Linked DNA regions of Homo sapiens: region 1 is linked to region 2. The links are contacts of gene promoters, found by promoter capture Hi-C in blood cells and fetal thymus (Javierre and others, 2016). All regions are on one chromosome and are shown on one strand. Each heading gives the region's core, a stretch centred on a gene start or on the middle of the fragment in contact. The rest is flanking DNA. Distances are from core to core; before and after follow the strand shown. Region 1 has its middle 16 kb from the start of MS4A4A. Region 2 holds the start of MS4A10 (membrane spanning 4-domains A10).

Region 1 (7,140 bases), core at 2,643-5,142, 520 kb before region 2:
GAGAGACCCTTTGTCCTTTGTTTCAGCGCTAGTTCTTTTTTGTGACACTGAGCATGTGTTTCCAACAATGGGGACAGGAATGGAAAAATGAGTTGGAGAGAGGCAATAAAAATCTTTCTTCTCTTGACTAATATATGAAAAACACTGGCACCACCAAGTAAAAAAGATAAGATCCCCTCCCACCAGGAATTTAGGCTCCTTATGGGTACTCAGACAAACAGTTTTTCTAAGCTGTAGGAAACCGATACTAAATTGACAAATCTTGATGAATACCTCATAGGCTGTGGCATTCAATGCTACTATTTTGGACCTTACGGTGCAAAAGAAATACATTAATACACTGCCTAACATTCATATCAAGTAATTACACTGTCTACTATTGCTACATTGTCTTATTTTGCTCTTGTTCCAAATTCACATAATTTTCCCTGTTGTTATTACTCTCTTTTCATGAATGAAGAGGTTTTTGAAAACAGGTTTGCTACAGCAACAATTCTCTGCTTCACACAGGAGGGACTCCTAAGTGCCAGCCTCTGTATATGTGAACAGGGCTGCCATTTTGTTCTCACCAGTCTAAAGTTATCCTAGGTTCCTATTCCAAATGAGCTACCACTCACAGTTATTTTATTCAGCCAATATTTATTAAGTATCTGGCCCATGCAGACCTATGCAAGAGATCAGTAATACCTGTAGAAGATAATGTCCCTGCCCTTGAACACAGTACATAGGGAGCATCACGAGAGCACAAAAAGTTCAGATGTGTTGGCTAAAATTTCCCTTGGGAAGAGGAGGATTCATTGAAAATTAACATTCAAATAATGCTTTCAAAGAAGAGCAGGTGCTTGCAGCCATATGCATTCTAGGTAGGGGAATCAGTGCGCACAGAGGCTAGAGCCCTGAAACAGTTTGGCTTACTGGGGGGAACTGCAAACACTTTGTTATGATTCTGTCACAGTGGGAGAAGTGACAGTTTCATTTGGGTGAGAGGTAAGATCCTGGACGTGCAAAATGTGGAATTCACAGGACTTCAAATGCTTACTGGAGACATTGGGCTTTGTCATGCAGTCAATGTGCAGACACAGAAAGATTCAAGCAGCACAGTGACAAAATCCCATTTCTATTCCAAAAGTTCCTATTACAGTAGTGAATGTAAGGGTACGGAAAGGCAAATGAAGGTCAGAAAATCCAAAACAATAAGACATGGGATAGAATATTAATATTAGGCAATAAAAGTTCTAAGGAAAATTCTCAGGTATGACAAAGGAGGGCATTTATAATGATATGTTGTTTAGAATCTTATGATCAAATAACATATAATATTCTACTAATAAAAAAATGCCTAGGAGTGTGAGAAACTAACAAAAACACAGTACTCATGAGAATTTTTAACATATGTAAGTTTTGAGGAATGTAAGCCAAAAAAGATGATTTGAATTACAAAATACTTGAATGAATCAACACTAAAGAAAGCATGCTTTTTAAGAACCCTTGGTACATTGGCAACAATTGACCAAATATTCATCCCAAAACCTCACTAACTTAAAACAAAAAATCCAGCCCACATTAACTAATCAATAAAGCTAGAGGTAAGTAATACAAATATTTGTTACCAAAATAAGATTAATTTCAAGCCCAATGAATATTTATAGACTTTTAATTGTTAATAACCAGATTAAATGCCTAAAGTGAATATATTTTGGTCATACTAAAACAAAAATATAAAGTGTTCAGTAATTCACTTAAGTGGAAACATGAAGAATTTTTATGAGGAAAGACATACGCCTTTTATTTAGAAACATAGACAGAGACTTGACTGTATTGACTTATTTCTGGTTGTCAGTTATTCCACATTTTTTTCGGACGTAATATAATATACTTTCAAATAAATCTCTTGTGGAAATTGACTTAATGTTCTTTATGTCCATGTGGAATGAGTATGACTAGCCAAAAGTATTTTAATAAAGACTAATGTTGAAGTAAAGACAGTACTATCAGAAATTAAAATGGAGTATACAATAACTAATACAAGTGATGCGTTGTGTTAAAAAAGACTGAATGGCAAGAAAATGAGAATAGAATGCCCACATAGTAATCATAGAAAAAATATAAATGGATGAAGTGCAGGACCAGACAATTTAACTAAAGAAATAGAAATGGCCATGCACTTATGCATGAAAAAATGGATTTGAAAGCAAATAATTTGTATAATGAAATAAACGAAAAGTGATGTGTTTTGAAATGCAAAAAGAAAAAAAAAGTGGTTGGTGGAGAAAAGCTCTGAGAGCACCACAAGAGGAACAGTTAAGATATGAAAGTCCCTGGAAAAGAGGAAGCTGGGACAGGACATGCAACATTGCACTTTTCACAGGATCAGCACCAAGAGCTTGGAGTTCAAGTTCCCAGGTACTTTAGTTCAGTAAGACTATGTGATAGCTGTTATGCGGTCATCTGGGGGCTGGTGGTGAAACTCAAGCCCTGCCGTCTTCTTATTGTGTTTAGTCGGAATGTACAACAATTATGCCCATGAGGCAATTTCATGGCATGGCATTGGTATATTTGCTTCAGGGCTAGAGTGACAGTCAAGTGAGGAAGACTGAAGCCGAAGACTGAACATCAGAGTTATACATCTTGACATCCTTTGTCCTTACTTGTATTTTAAAAACCCAGGCCCAGATAACTCCAACACTCGGTTTCTCCTATATCTGACATTTGGAACCTTGTATTATTAGTTCAGAAGAAGTACTGAAGAGGCCTCAGTGCACAGGCTCGGGACTGATCCTGTAACAAAGGTGATCAGATGACACCCAGGCCCAGCTGGTCTCAGCCAAATGGCTCAGGGTTGACCCTAAATATGGAAAACCAGAGAATCAGGACTATGGCTGCCTACCATGCCCTGAATAACCAGTTATATGGATTGTCATCTGGTAGAAATCCTATGCAGGGGGTGTTAATGTCATCCTTTGTGGAGTCTCTTGGTTGGATCTTCAACCACTTAATATTTTCATCAAGAATTTAGTTGCTGATCCTATTTGCAAATGATCCAAAAACAAGAAGTATAATTTATAAAACGAGAGTGTCCAGATTGAAGATACAACCCAAAAGTCTGGAACATGAGCGTTGGAATACAGATCAAATTTAATCAGGTAAAATTAAAGTCCCAAGCTTATGTTTAAAAACAAATCACCTGCACAAACCTGAGATGGGACTAGAACTTGCTTAACAGAAGTTAATGTGAGAAAGGCCTGGGCCCTTCTACTAGTTAGCTGAAAGGATGGAGACAGAAGCAAAAGACTCTCCAAGAAGTCTGCCTTTGCCTCTAGAGCAATGGATCTCAATCTTGTCTGAGCATTGGGATAACTTGGGAAACTTTAACACGTACTAACACATGAGCCCCATTACCAGGTATTCTGATTTAATTAATATGGATTATGGTTGGAGAGTCAAAATTTTTTGTAGCTCTTTAGCGGATTCTACCGTATAGTCAATGTTGCCAATTACTGCTATAAGCCTGTAGATATCAAACTTGAGTGTGTATCAAAATCTGGAGGGCTTCTTAAAACACAGAATGCACACCGAGACTGTCTGATTCAATAGGTCTGGGGTAGGGTATTTGCATGTCAACCACAATGTCAGGTGATACTGATGCTACTACTCTGGGAACCACATTTTAAGAGCTACTGCTCTAGACGAACCTGGAGTTCTCCAGATGCAACTAAAGGCTTTTTAAATTCTACCGCTGGTATTGAGCCAGAATGCATAGAACCTGGCCCTGTGCCTATCTTCTCTTCTGAGTAGGATTTATTCCATAAGCTTTGGCCTTCTCTTTACATCTTCATATCTGTGTCTGGAGGGTAGGGCCAAGTTGGACTTCGGGATACTAAACTGAGGCCTTTTATTGTAAGGACAGAGAGTAGGATGTGATGTCTTGATGCTGCTTCAGGTTACTAGAGGAGACAATGATCTCAGTTCAGAACCAAGCTTAAAGTTATATATCTCTCGGGGACTATTTGTCCCAGGAATGCAAGCTAGGATTTACTTTTCAATCTTTCCCCAGTTTCTTTCCCAAAAGTAACATATCTTTGGGAAGAAATTAGGGTAAATGAGCAATGGTAAGCTCAAATCCTGGCATCAGGAAAATTCTCCTAGCACTCATGGTATGGCCTGTTCACCACTGACCACAAAGACATGTAGAAGGTGGTGCACAATTTTCAGGAGTCCAGAAATACAAACAGTTCTCTTAATACTTGCTCTGTAGTCTCAATTGTTGTCATCTCTTTCCACACACACATGCATGCACACACACGCACACACATGCACACAGGCAGTTCTTACAATATTGAGATGCTTTGCTTAGACTGGGCTGTATATAAGAGACCTGATTTACATCTTATAAAAATAGAACATCAGAGTTAGAAGAGACGTGGAAATCTTTCTACACTGAAATATGAGAAGTCTGTGGCCCAGGGAAAGAAAGTGATTCACGTGAGTCATGAAGGTAATGAATGTATAACCCAGTTTTTCTGTTTTTCCTATTATCCCCTTCATTTTGACATTGAGGTGTCATATTTAATTGAGCCACAAGAGGGAGGCAGTGGACAAGAAATTGTCCTACCTAATTTGAATTCCTACCTAATCTGGTGTCTTCTGGGAAGACCTTATGAAAAGTCAACTCCCAGCTCTGGTCTTGTATACTAGCGCTGGGTTGGGTCCCATTTCTATCCCATATTCTCTGGGAATCTAGTAGATACAGCAAGTCATCCCTCTGACCCTTAGCTTTTTCATCTGCTAAATTTTGTAGGTATTATTTAGATATTATTACTTATATTGAAAGGTGTTAGTGAGGATACCTGAGAATGAATTTTCAAAACATCACAAGTTGATTTTCAAGATAGTATTAAAGTGCTTTAATTTCAAAGGGTGCTTTTTGTACCATCCTAACTTTATACCACTTTTTTGTCCACTCCCACCCCATTCTCTGCACTCTGGTGAACTGAAAAACATATTTTAGATTTTATCTAATTGTTATTTACTCTACTCTCCTCTCCCTTCTCCTGTCTTTCCCCACATTCTGTAAAATGTGAGCACATGCATGATGGAGGAGGGTGTGGATACAGCTAGAGGGAGAGGTTGAGACTGCACATCTCACCTGGTCTCATATTCTGAAAAATCTGGGTTATAAATGGCACACCAGAGACATTACCATGCCCTCCTCTCTGCTTTTTGGAACATGGATCTTATTGCAGAAGGTGAGGGTTTGGGAAGGCTTCGGGATGAGTGGCCAGGTGGCAACATCTGTGCCTGGCTTCTTCCCTTCTTGGTGGAACAGCCACTGGCCTCTCATAAGGGAAATAACCTGAACCAGCCCGACCCTGAGAGCCTCCCTCATGGTGTTGGACTTATAGATCACACATTAAGGAAATATGTCCATGAGAGATTTTAGGATGACTCATATGGTTTCATGGATCTAGAAGTGACTTTGAAAGTGAATGAACCAACCTAGTAGTTTCTAGTGAAGCTGACTGATGGAAATGAACCAAGCATTTATTTTCCAATGCCATAGAGTGGATCGGTGAAAGCTGGGTGGAGAGAGGATTAAAAGAAGTGAAATAAAGTTAGGACTTCTGAACGTTTCTCTAATACCCATTCCCATCATGGTTGGGCCAGTACCATTTTTGGAGTTTTTGTTTTGTTTCTCTTTCCCTTTATTTTACACAGTATAGAAATTCACTGACTACTCCTCAGATTTTTCCAGTCCTGCCTCCCCAGAGGGACTCACATCCCTTTTCATGGCAGTAACCACCTGGTGTTGCTCGAGCACCTCCTAGGATTCCCACTCGTTACTCAAAATGGATAATAAAGAAATTTTCTCAAACGCAATTTAGGTGAATAAAATTTAATCTAATAATATGTGTGAACTATTCTTCTGAAATAATAATGCTGAGATAATGAGTGGAACCACGCATTTATTTTCTTGAACCTGATAATACAAATCCCTAGCAGTTATCTGGACCAACAAGTGGTAAGAGCAGAGGTCTTGAGGTGAGCACGTTCCATGCTTCTGAGGAAACAGTACGTCTGGAGACACATTGAGACTGGAATAGGGAGAGGAGAAGGCAATGTTGTCTGAGATTTCTGGGGGGCTGGATTATAAAGCGACTTATTAAGGAGATACGGCTTATTTTGAGTGAGGTAGGAGGCATTGGAAGATTTTCAGCAAAGGGAAGACAGGATCTAACTTGCATCTTAACAGGACCACTCTGGCTGCCTGTCTTGGTAAGAACCGACTGAAGGGAGGCGAGGGAAGATGTGGGGAGAGTAGCGAGGAGGCTCCGGCAGTAGTCCCAGAGAGAGGATGGTGGGTTGTGTTGTTGGAACACAGCATCACTGCTCATTCAAATCCTAGGAGGTGGGTGCCTACGCCTCTCTTTCTTTCACTCCCCACATTCAGTCATTTTGAAGGCTCAGGTATCAGTAAAAGTGTCCCCAAGAAACATAATTCATCCCATGTGACTTATTTAAGGGATTTTTATGAAGACCTCGCAGAATTTGGGCAGAGTTAAGGGAACGAAGAAGGAAAGGGAGGTCACTACAGACAAGAAAAGCAGGAAGGTATGAGAAGAGAACACACTATTATGGGGACCAATAAAGAGCAGAAGTCTTGTAAGAAGAGCTGCTTTGTAGTATAACTGTGGAAGAAGTAGCTACTTCCAAAGGCTGTGTCAATGCAGAGAGAATAGGAAAGCAATGCTTTGTCCTTTCTCTCTTTCCAGCCTCTAATTCTCCAAACAAACCTGAATGGTTTGCTTTACTGTCACACATTTATAGGGGATTTGTGGAGATTTTCCCAGAGTGACACAATTGGCAAATGGCTGAATTGTCCGGAGCTCAGACCTGCTGCTTTTTAGCCCTGTGGTCTTTCTATTACACTACCTGGTCCCCCTCCAGAGAGAAACAACTAAATGAGACTTGGCTTTGGCTCACAGAGACAATGAATAGGGAAAGTTGGAAGTCTAAGTGGGTGAGAAGATATATTGTCGGCTCATTCCCTTTTTTGCCCTCCCAAGAGAAAAAAGAGCTGGCATTTTTTTTTTTTGGAATGAAATATATTTTCTTTTTCTGATAGTGTTCCACTGCTCTTCC
Region 2 (7,676 bases), core at 3,631-6,130:
CTATAGCAAGTTGACTAGCAGGATGAAGATTTATATAACAACATAATTATGGAAGTGCCACCCCATCACCTTTGCAATAGGTTACTGGTTAGAAGCAAGTCACAGGTGCTACCCACACTCAAAGGGAAGGGTTATTGGGACCGCCTTAGAATTTGTCTGCCTCAGTTACAGTTCTGCTCATTTAAATTTGTAATTTTGAAAATGCAAATTCAATGTATTTAATTTTCTCCCAGTTTAAAAAGCCCTATCTATACCCCCTAAAACCCTTCAGCTGCAGGTTAATTTTTCTCCTCTCCTTTATTTTCCTCACTGTCACTCAACCCATTGAAATCACTCTCTGTAAGGTTATTGCATTGACCTTGTCACCAAAATCAATAGGCTTTTAAAAATCCTTGTTTTAATAATAGCTCTCTCCATTTCTTAAATGTTGCCTACCCATAGATTTCCTCTGTGTACACTACCTACTCTCTACATGATCTCATCCACCACTTCAGGTTCATTTCATCTTTTATTCAGCAAGTGCTGATTGGGTGTGTGCTGTGTAAGCTCTGGAGACACCAGACATTAGCCAAGATCTCTGTTCTCATGGAGCTCACATTAGCCATCTATCACCATCCTGACAGTTTTCAAATCACTGTCTTCCACCCAGATCTCTTTTGCTGAGACAGCCTCAGCATCTACTTTCTTGTCTCACAAAAAGGAATTTACATCTTCTCTTCCAACTCAAGCCATTTCCCCTCCTGTGTTCCTGATGTCAGTTGACGTCCCTATAGACTTTGGGCCACCCAAGACTGAACCCAAGCATCATTCTTGGTTTCCCCTCTCTCTAAGCCACACAGAATCATCCTCCACTGATTCTCCTTGCTCTGGTTTCTCAACTGAGTCCACTCTCCTTATCCTCCTCCTTTGAGCCACATCACTTTTCACCTGCATCTTTGAACCACACCACCTTTGAACCACGTCACCCTTCACCTACATCAGGCGTCAGCCTCCTGCCACGTCCCCAGCTCTGAGCCTGCCCCATGCATCTCTTGACTAGATGACAGCCAGAGGGATTTTTCTAAAGTACAAAGTCATCATGTTACTGTTCTGCCTAAACTTATTCAGGCTCTCCTTTGCCCTTGGGCTAAAGTCCAAATGCTCTAGCAACACTTACAAAGCCCTGGAGATGTAGCAGTTCACCTCTCCAGCCCCATCCCTCCTCACCCTCCACTTACACTTGACCCCGAGCCATCCTGAGTCTCCGTGAGCTCCATCTGCCTGGAAGGCTGCTCTCTGCCTGCTTCCAACCCTCCTATTTGTCCTGCTTAGCTCCCAACCCCACTTCAGACCTTCATTTAGATACCACTTCCTCCAGGAAGCCTTATCTGGCCTCATCCCCCAACCCCTTCTAGATTAGGGGAACTCCTCCAGGCTCTCGCCACACCCACATCTCAGTATCACATCACTCACCCGTCCACAGCACAGTTACCTGTCTCCCTGTTCATCTTATTCAATGGACTTCATATTCTTTCCCTATTGCTGCTGTAACAAATTACCATGAACTTAGTGGCCTAACATAACACAGACTTATTATTAGACAGTTCTGAGGTCAGAGGTCCTAAAATCCAGGTGTCGGCAGGGCTGAGTTCCTTCTGGAGGCTCCAGGGAGGCCCCGCTTCCTTGCCTTTTCCAGCTTCTAGAGGCCACCTGCCTTGCTTGGCTTGGGACCTTGGCCTCCACCTGCCAAGCTCTTCCACTCACTCTGACCCTCTTGCCTCCCGCTTGGGAATACATTGGGCCCACTGAATAATCTATCCCTATCAACAACTTTGACTTAATCATCTGCAAAGCCCTTTTCACTGCATAAGGTAACGTATTCACAGATTCTAGGGATGTGGACATTGTTGAGGTGCCATTGCTCTGACTACCACAAATTCTGAGCTCCTCAAGGCCAGGGGCAGCCTCTTGCCCACTCCTGGATCCCCAGCATGTCACACAGCGCCTGGCCCAAGTAAGTGCTCATTAGCTGTTTTATCAATGAACGGATCAGTTAATGAACAAGGGTATCAGGGGGGTGGGGGGCTGTCTTCCTACTCAGCAAAAAAGCACTGGTCCTGGAAAAACACTCACCCCATGTTTGAGGAGCTAAAGTCGTGGGTGATGAACGGGTGCAAGGCAACCAATGACAGTGATTATTGGCCTCACGTGTCTCAGCATTACAGTGGGCAGGCAAGTGCCTTCAGAAGAAACAGGTCTCTCTCAAAGCTACTGGCTGCTGCTCAGCCTGGCCCCCTACCCCTCAGGGGAAGCCTGCATAGTCCAGCAGGTCTGAGAGGGGTGAGTGGCCTTTTGCCTGATTGTGTGTGTGACATCGAAGTCTATGCCACATTGAACATGCATGACAGCTGAGCACGAGCGACCCCGGAAGCACACAGCAACTAAAATAATTAGGCACGGCCACTGACACGTGTGAGGCGCTGCTTTTAAGCATTTTACATATTCTAACTCATTTAACCCTCCAGCAACTTGATGGGTACTATTATCCCCATTTTATAGAGGGGAAAACTGAGGCCCACCAAAGTCAAATAACTTGCCCAAGGTCACACAACATTAAGAGGTAGAATCAAGATTTGAACTCAGGCATCCCAGATGCAGAGTCAGCTCTGAAGTGCTATGCTGTGCTCAGCAAGTCAAAGTCAGTCAGTCCTGGCATCAGGGACTATCTGTACAGCCGCTGGCTCTGCCTCGCGCTTCCCTGTCCACCCTCAGCAGAGCGATGTGGAGAGAGAAGCCAGATGGAAAAGGAAGAGCCCAAGGCGGGATCTAGGGGTCGCTGGATCTGGGGGTCGCTGGATCTGGGGGTCACAGGATCTGGGGGTTGCTGGATCTGGGAGTTGTGGGATCTGAGGGTTGTTGGATCTGGGGGTTGTGGGATCTGGGGGTTGCTGGATCTGGGAGTTGTGGGATCTGGGGGTTGCTGGATCTGGGAGTTGTGGGATCTGGAGGTTGCTGGATCTGGGGTTTGTTGGATCTGGGGGTCGTGGGATCTGGGGGTTGCTGGATCTGGGGGTCACTGGATCGGGGGGGTCACTGGATCTGGGGTCATAGGATCTGGGAGTCACAGGATCTGGGGGTCACGGGATCTGGGGGTTGTGGGATCTGGGGGTCATGGGATCTGGGGGTCACAGGATCTGAGGGTTGTGGGATCTGGGGGTCCCTGGATCTGGGGGTTGTGGTACCTGGGGGTCGCTGGATCTGGGGTCACTGGATCTGGGGGTCATGGGATCTGGGGGTCACTGGAGCCCACTCCACACCTCCTCCACCAGAACAGCCTCACGGAAGACCTTCACACTTCCCAGAGCAGCACCGTGCTCATGGAAAGATCAGGGCACAAGATGTGGCAACTGATTCTGTCAGATGCAATTTGTGGGCCATGCCTGGATCCTGGATCCTGATTTGAACAAATCAAAAGTAACAAGACATTTGTGAGATAATCAGAAACTGAAGCTCCGACTAGTTATTTGATACCCGGTAAGTACCAAAAACTAGATAAGAACAGGTTTTTCTGACTCCTAGGGTTAAGCTTGTCCCCCACAACAGGGGTCCCCAACCCCCAGGCCATGGAGCTATACCAGTCTGTGGCCTGTTAGGAACCAGGCCTCACAGCAGAAGGTGAGGGGCAACAGGCAAGCATGACCTACCACCTGAGTGCCGCCTCCTGTCAGATCAGCCGCAGCAATAGATTCTCAAAGCAGAACGGGCCCTATTATGAATTGCACATGCAAGGGATCTAAGTGGTACCCTCATGAGAATCGAATGCCTGATGATCTGAGGTGGACTAATTTCATCCCAGAACCATCCCCCATCCCCACCCCGGCCCATGGAAAAATTGTCTTCCACGAAACTGGTCCCCAGTGCCAGAACGGTTGGGGACCACTGCTCTATGAAAGTAGTTTCTTTTTTCCTTTCCTCTTTTTTTTTTTTTTTTTTTTTTGAGACAGGGTCACACTGTGTTGCCCGGACTGAGGTGCAGTGGTGTGATCACAGCTCACTGGACTCAAGTGATGCTCCCACCTCAGCCTCTCGAGCAGCTGGAACCATAGACAGGGACCAAGACACCTGGCTCATTTTTGAATTTTTGAATTTTTGTAGAGATGAGGTCTCGCTATGTTGCCCAGGCTGGTCTCAAGCTCTTGGCTCAAGTGATCCTCCCACTTTGGTCTCCCAAAGAGCTGGGATTGCAGGCATGAGCCACCGCCCGGCCCTTTAAAAGACTAGTTTCCAAATGTTCAACAGAGCTCTGTGGGGCTGCAGGGTTAAACTCTGAGCGTAAATAGACCTCAGTGAGCACCAGGACTCGGTTTTAATTTTTTTGTTCTGATCATGTGGTCACACTTTTTTTTTAAAGAGTCCATATCTTTTAGAGATAAATACTAAAATGCTTACAAATAAAATGGGAAGATATCTGAGTTTTGCTTACTTCTGGGGGAGAATAAGATTGGCCAAGAGCTGCTGATGGTGGCTGTAGCTCGCGAATGGGCACAGGGGTGTCATGGAACCATTCTCTCTACTTTTGTGAGTGCTTGAAATTTTCCAGAATTAAAAGAACTCTTTCAAAAGGTTCAACTTCTTACTCCACTCCCAGGATCTAAGACGATTACAACCACTTTCACTCCATCAGTCATGCCCTGAAAACAGATTAAATTATCAACATTTCCCTTGCCAAAGGAAATTTACAACTGTCAAGGAGAGACATAAAGAAGGGCACTAAGATTTTCACCTGCCGGGGTTTGGCGGGAGGGGGAAGGACTTTGACAGCTTCCATGCAACCGGGGCATGAAGCAGGGCGTGGGTCCAGGAGGGAGAAGATCCAAAGTCGAATGTTGTAAAGATGTGCTGATTTCCCAGCGCTGTCTCTGGGGAGCTCCGGCAGCGCAAGAGGGCAAAGCACAGCTGGAAGCTCAGAGCTGCAGTCCCAGGTCCTGGGGTGAGTGGTCCCCCCATGGCAGGAACAGAGGGGAGTGATTTTGTGTTTCCATGTGGAGTTGGGGGGTTGCTCAGGTGTACAGACCTGGTCCCCCCTTGAAGCCAGGGGACCGGCCTCTTATACCCCTAGCCAATCAGTTGTTGGCTGTAGGGTTGGAGCGGTGTTACTTAAACTCCCAGAAGGGAGGAGATGTGAGCCTTTAGCAATGAACAATTATACCAGCTGGAGAATGGGTGGCCCACCCAGCAGAGGGGATCTGGGAAGTAGGGGGCACCGTCGGCCTCTCCCCTGCGGAGCCCCATCCTGCTGCCAGTTACTGACCCTTATTGCTGGAGGAGCCCCAGACACTTTTCTTGCAGTCTGGAAATGCATACACACAGAGAGACCAGTTCAAGAAAACAGAGCCCCAGGGAGGAGAAGGGACTTGTCGAGGGCCACGAGGGGGCAGGACTAGAATCCAGATTCTTGACTCCCTCCTTGGACGGAGGCCTCTGTTTCCTGCAGGCCTTCCAGCTGCTGGTGGGTGAGCTCTCTTTACACCAGGCACACTGTCTGGAAGCACCAGGAGGAGGCTGGTTCAGTACAGTCGTAGGTGGTTTTCTAACTGGCATTCACTGAAACGCTGATCCTCTAAGGCACCCCACCCCCAACACCAGCCTGCCTGTCACATGTTGTGACACTCTTGTCACTCAGCACCTCTCAATTCCTGCCTTTCTGTCCTTGACATGCATGCACATGCATGCACACACATGCACACACACACACACGCACACACACACACACACACACACCCTGAGAAGCTCTCTCTGTCCTCTAGGGCTCCACTGCACAGTCTGATGAGGGTCATATTATTCATGCCACGTTTCCTCTGCCTGCTCAGCCACAGACCTCCCATGGACACATCTTACTCACTCCTGCCTCGGTCCCTGCAGTGTCCAGTGCAGAAACTCCACAAACAAATCCACGAATGACAGTGTTGGATCTCAGATCACTAGCTCAATACACTCAGTGCCTTTCTTCCCTCACGACCCCCTACCCCCACCCCAGGGCCCCAGAGCTCTCACGGCCCTCTCCCCCTGTAAGCAGGATGGGGATGGAGGCAATAAACTCACCACTCCAGATGATAGGGACAGGGTGTATCATGTCTTAACCAAGAACCAGACGAGGACAAGGTGGAGCCTCGCTCTCACAGCCCTCTCCCCCTGTAAGCAGGATGCAGATGGAGGCAATAAACTCACCACTCCAGATGATAGGGATGGGGTGTACCATGTCTTAACCGAGAACCAGACGAGGACAAGGTGGAGCCTCACTGGTGGGATTCTAGACACGCAACAGGCCAGTGGCAACTGTGGCTGACATTTATTGCTATACGCCAGTCCCTGTCAGTTGCAGGCATTGTTTCAGCTACTCCTCACCACCTACCCCCTAGGGACAGGCAGTGGCACTCCCCATGAGAAGGTGAGGGGAGACTCAGATGCTGAGATGTAAAAAACCGGCCCAAGGTCAAAGCTCCGGGGAGCAGAGCCAGGACTTTGCACGGAGCACCCATTCTAGCTGACAACTTCCAGCGCTCAGGGCCGTGCCCACTCTGCTGCTTTGCTGGGGGGTTCTGGAGGGTCCTGCCCAGCTCTGTCCCTGTCCTCCCTCCACTCCCAGAACTGAAGGAACAACGAGAATATGTGTGGGACCCAGGCATCCCGTGGCCCTGTGCAGAGCGCTGAGGCCCTAGTGGCAGTGGGTTTCCCGTGGGATACCAAGCTGGCTGGGTCCGTGGTCCTGAGCTGGCTGAGGGGGCTGGGGTTGGGCGGGGAAAGGCTAAAAAAGTTCCTTTATGCACCAAACAGCCTGCTGCCTGCCCCCTCTCTGTCAGCACACTGTCACCTCCTAGCAGCCCTGCACAGGTCCTGGAAGTGGGCCAGGACAGCTGGGAATAAGTGTTCTAAGGAATCAGAGTTCATGCTCTTTGTCTTGGAAAGGCGTACGAGAGAGTCATAACAAACTTTTCCCCATGATGACTAAGGTCTGCCCTCTGCAACTCCTTCCTCTCCTGGTTGTATAAAATTCCTTGTAGCGGCTCTCTATCCCGTGAGAGAAGTATTATATTTAAAGTTGGAAGGGACCTTAGAGATCATCACTCAATTCCCATTCCCACTGTGATATGCACGTGAGCAAACCAAAAGCAGAGAAAAGGCCAAAAACCAGAGCCCAGGACCAGAAATTGAAACCTTCAAGGCCACTTTGCCCAAAAGCAGACCCCACAGAATACCAATTGCATAGAACCGTTAGACAATGAGAAAAAAAAGATCCTATGGCCAGCCGGGCGCAGTGGCTCACATCTGTAATCCTAGCACTTTCGGAGGCCAAGGTAGGCGGATCACCTGAGGTCGGGAGTTTGAGACCAGCCTGACCAACATGAAGAAACCCCATCTCTACTAAAAATACAAAATTAGCAGGGCGTGGTGGCAGGTGCCTGTAATCCCAGTTACTCAGGAGGCTGAGGCAGGAGAATCACTTGAACCCGGGAGGCGGAGGTTGCGGTGAGCCAAGATTACGCCACTACACTCCAGCCTGGGTGACAAGAGCGAAACTCCGTCTCAAAAATAGAAATAAATAAATAAATAAATAAATAAATAATAAAGATTATATGGCCAATTAAGTTTGGGAAATGCCCTTAATACTAAAACAGAGTGTGCCACTTGTAGAAAAT

The links. The method cuts DNA at HindIII sites, captures the fragments that hold promoters and counts their contacts. A CHiCAGO score of 5 or more calls a contact.
Region 1: a fragment that was not itself captured here is called in contact with the fragment with the promoter of MS4A10 in region 2 in 1 of 17 cell types (naive B cells); the score reaches 5.2 in naive B cells.

Annotation. Positions count from the first base shown.
Region 1 is chr11:60,261,225-60,268,364 of GRCh38, forward strand. No RefSeq gene overlaps it. Among named protein-coding and RNA genes, the nearest start is that of MS4A4A, 16 kb to the right of the region's middle. The HindIII fragment of the contact is 168 bases long and covers 3,809-3,976 here.
Region 2 is chr11:60,780,453-60,788,128 of GRCh38, forward strand. It overlaps MS4A10 (membrane spanning 4-domains A10), which reads left to right and starts at 4,881. Exons shown (of 8, transcript NM_206893.4): 1 at 4,881-4,969. The HindIII fragment of the contact is 8,520 bases long and covers 3,564-7,676 here.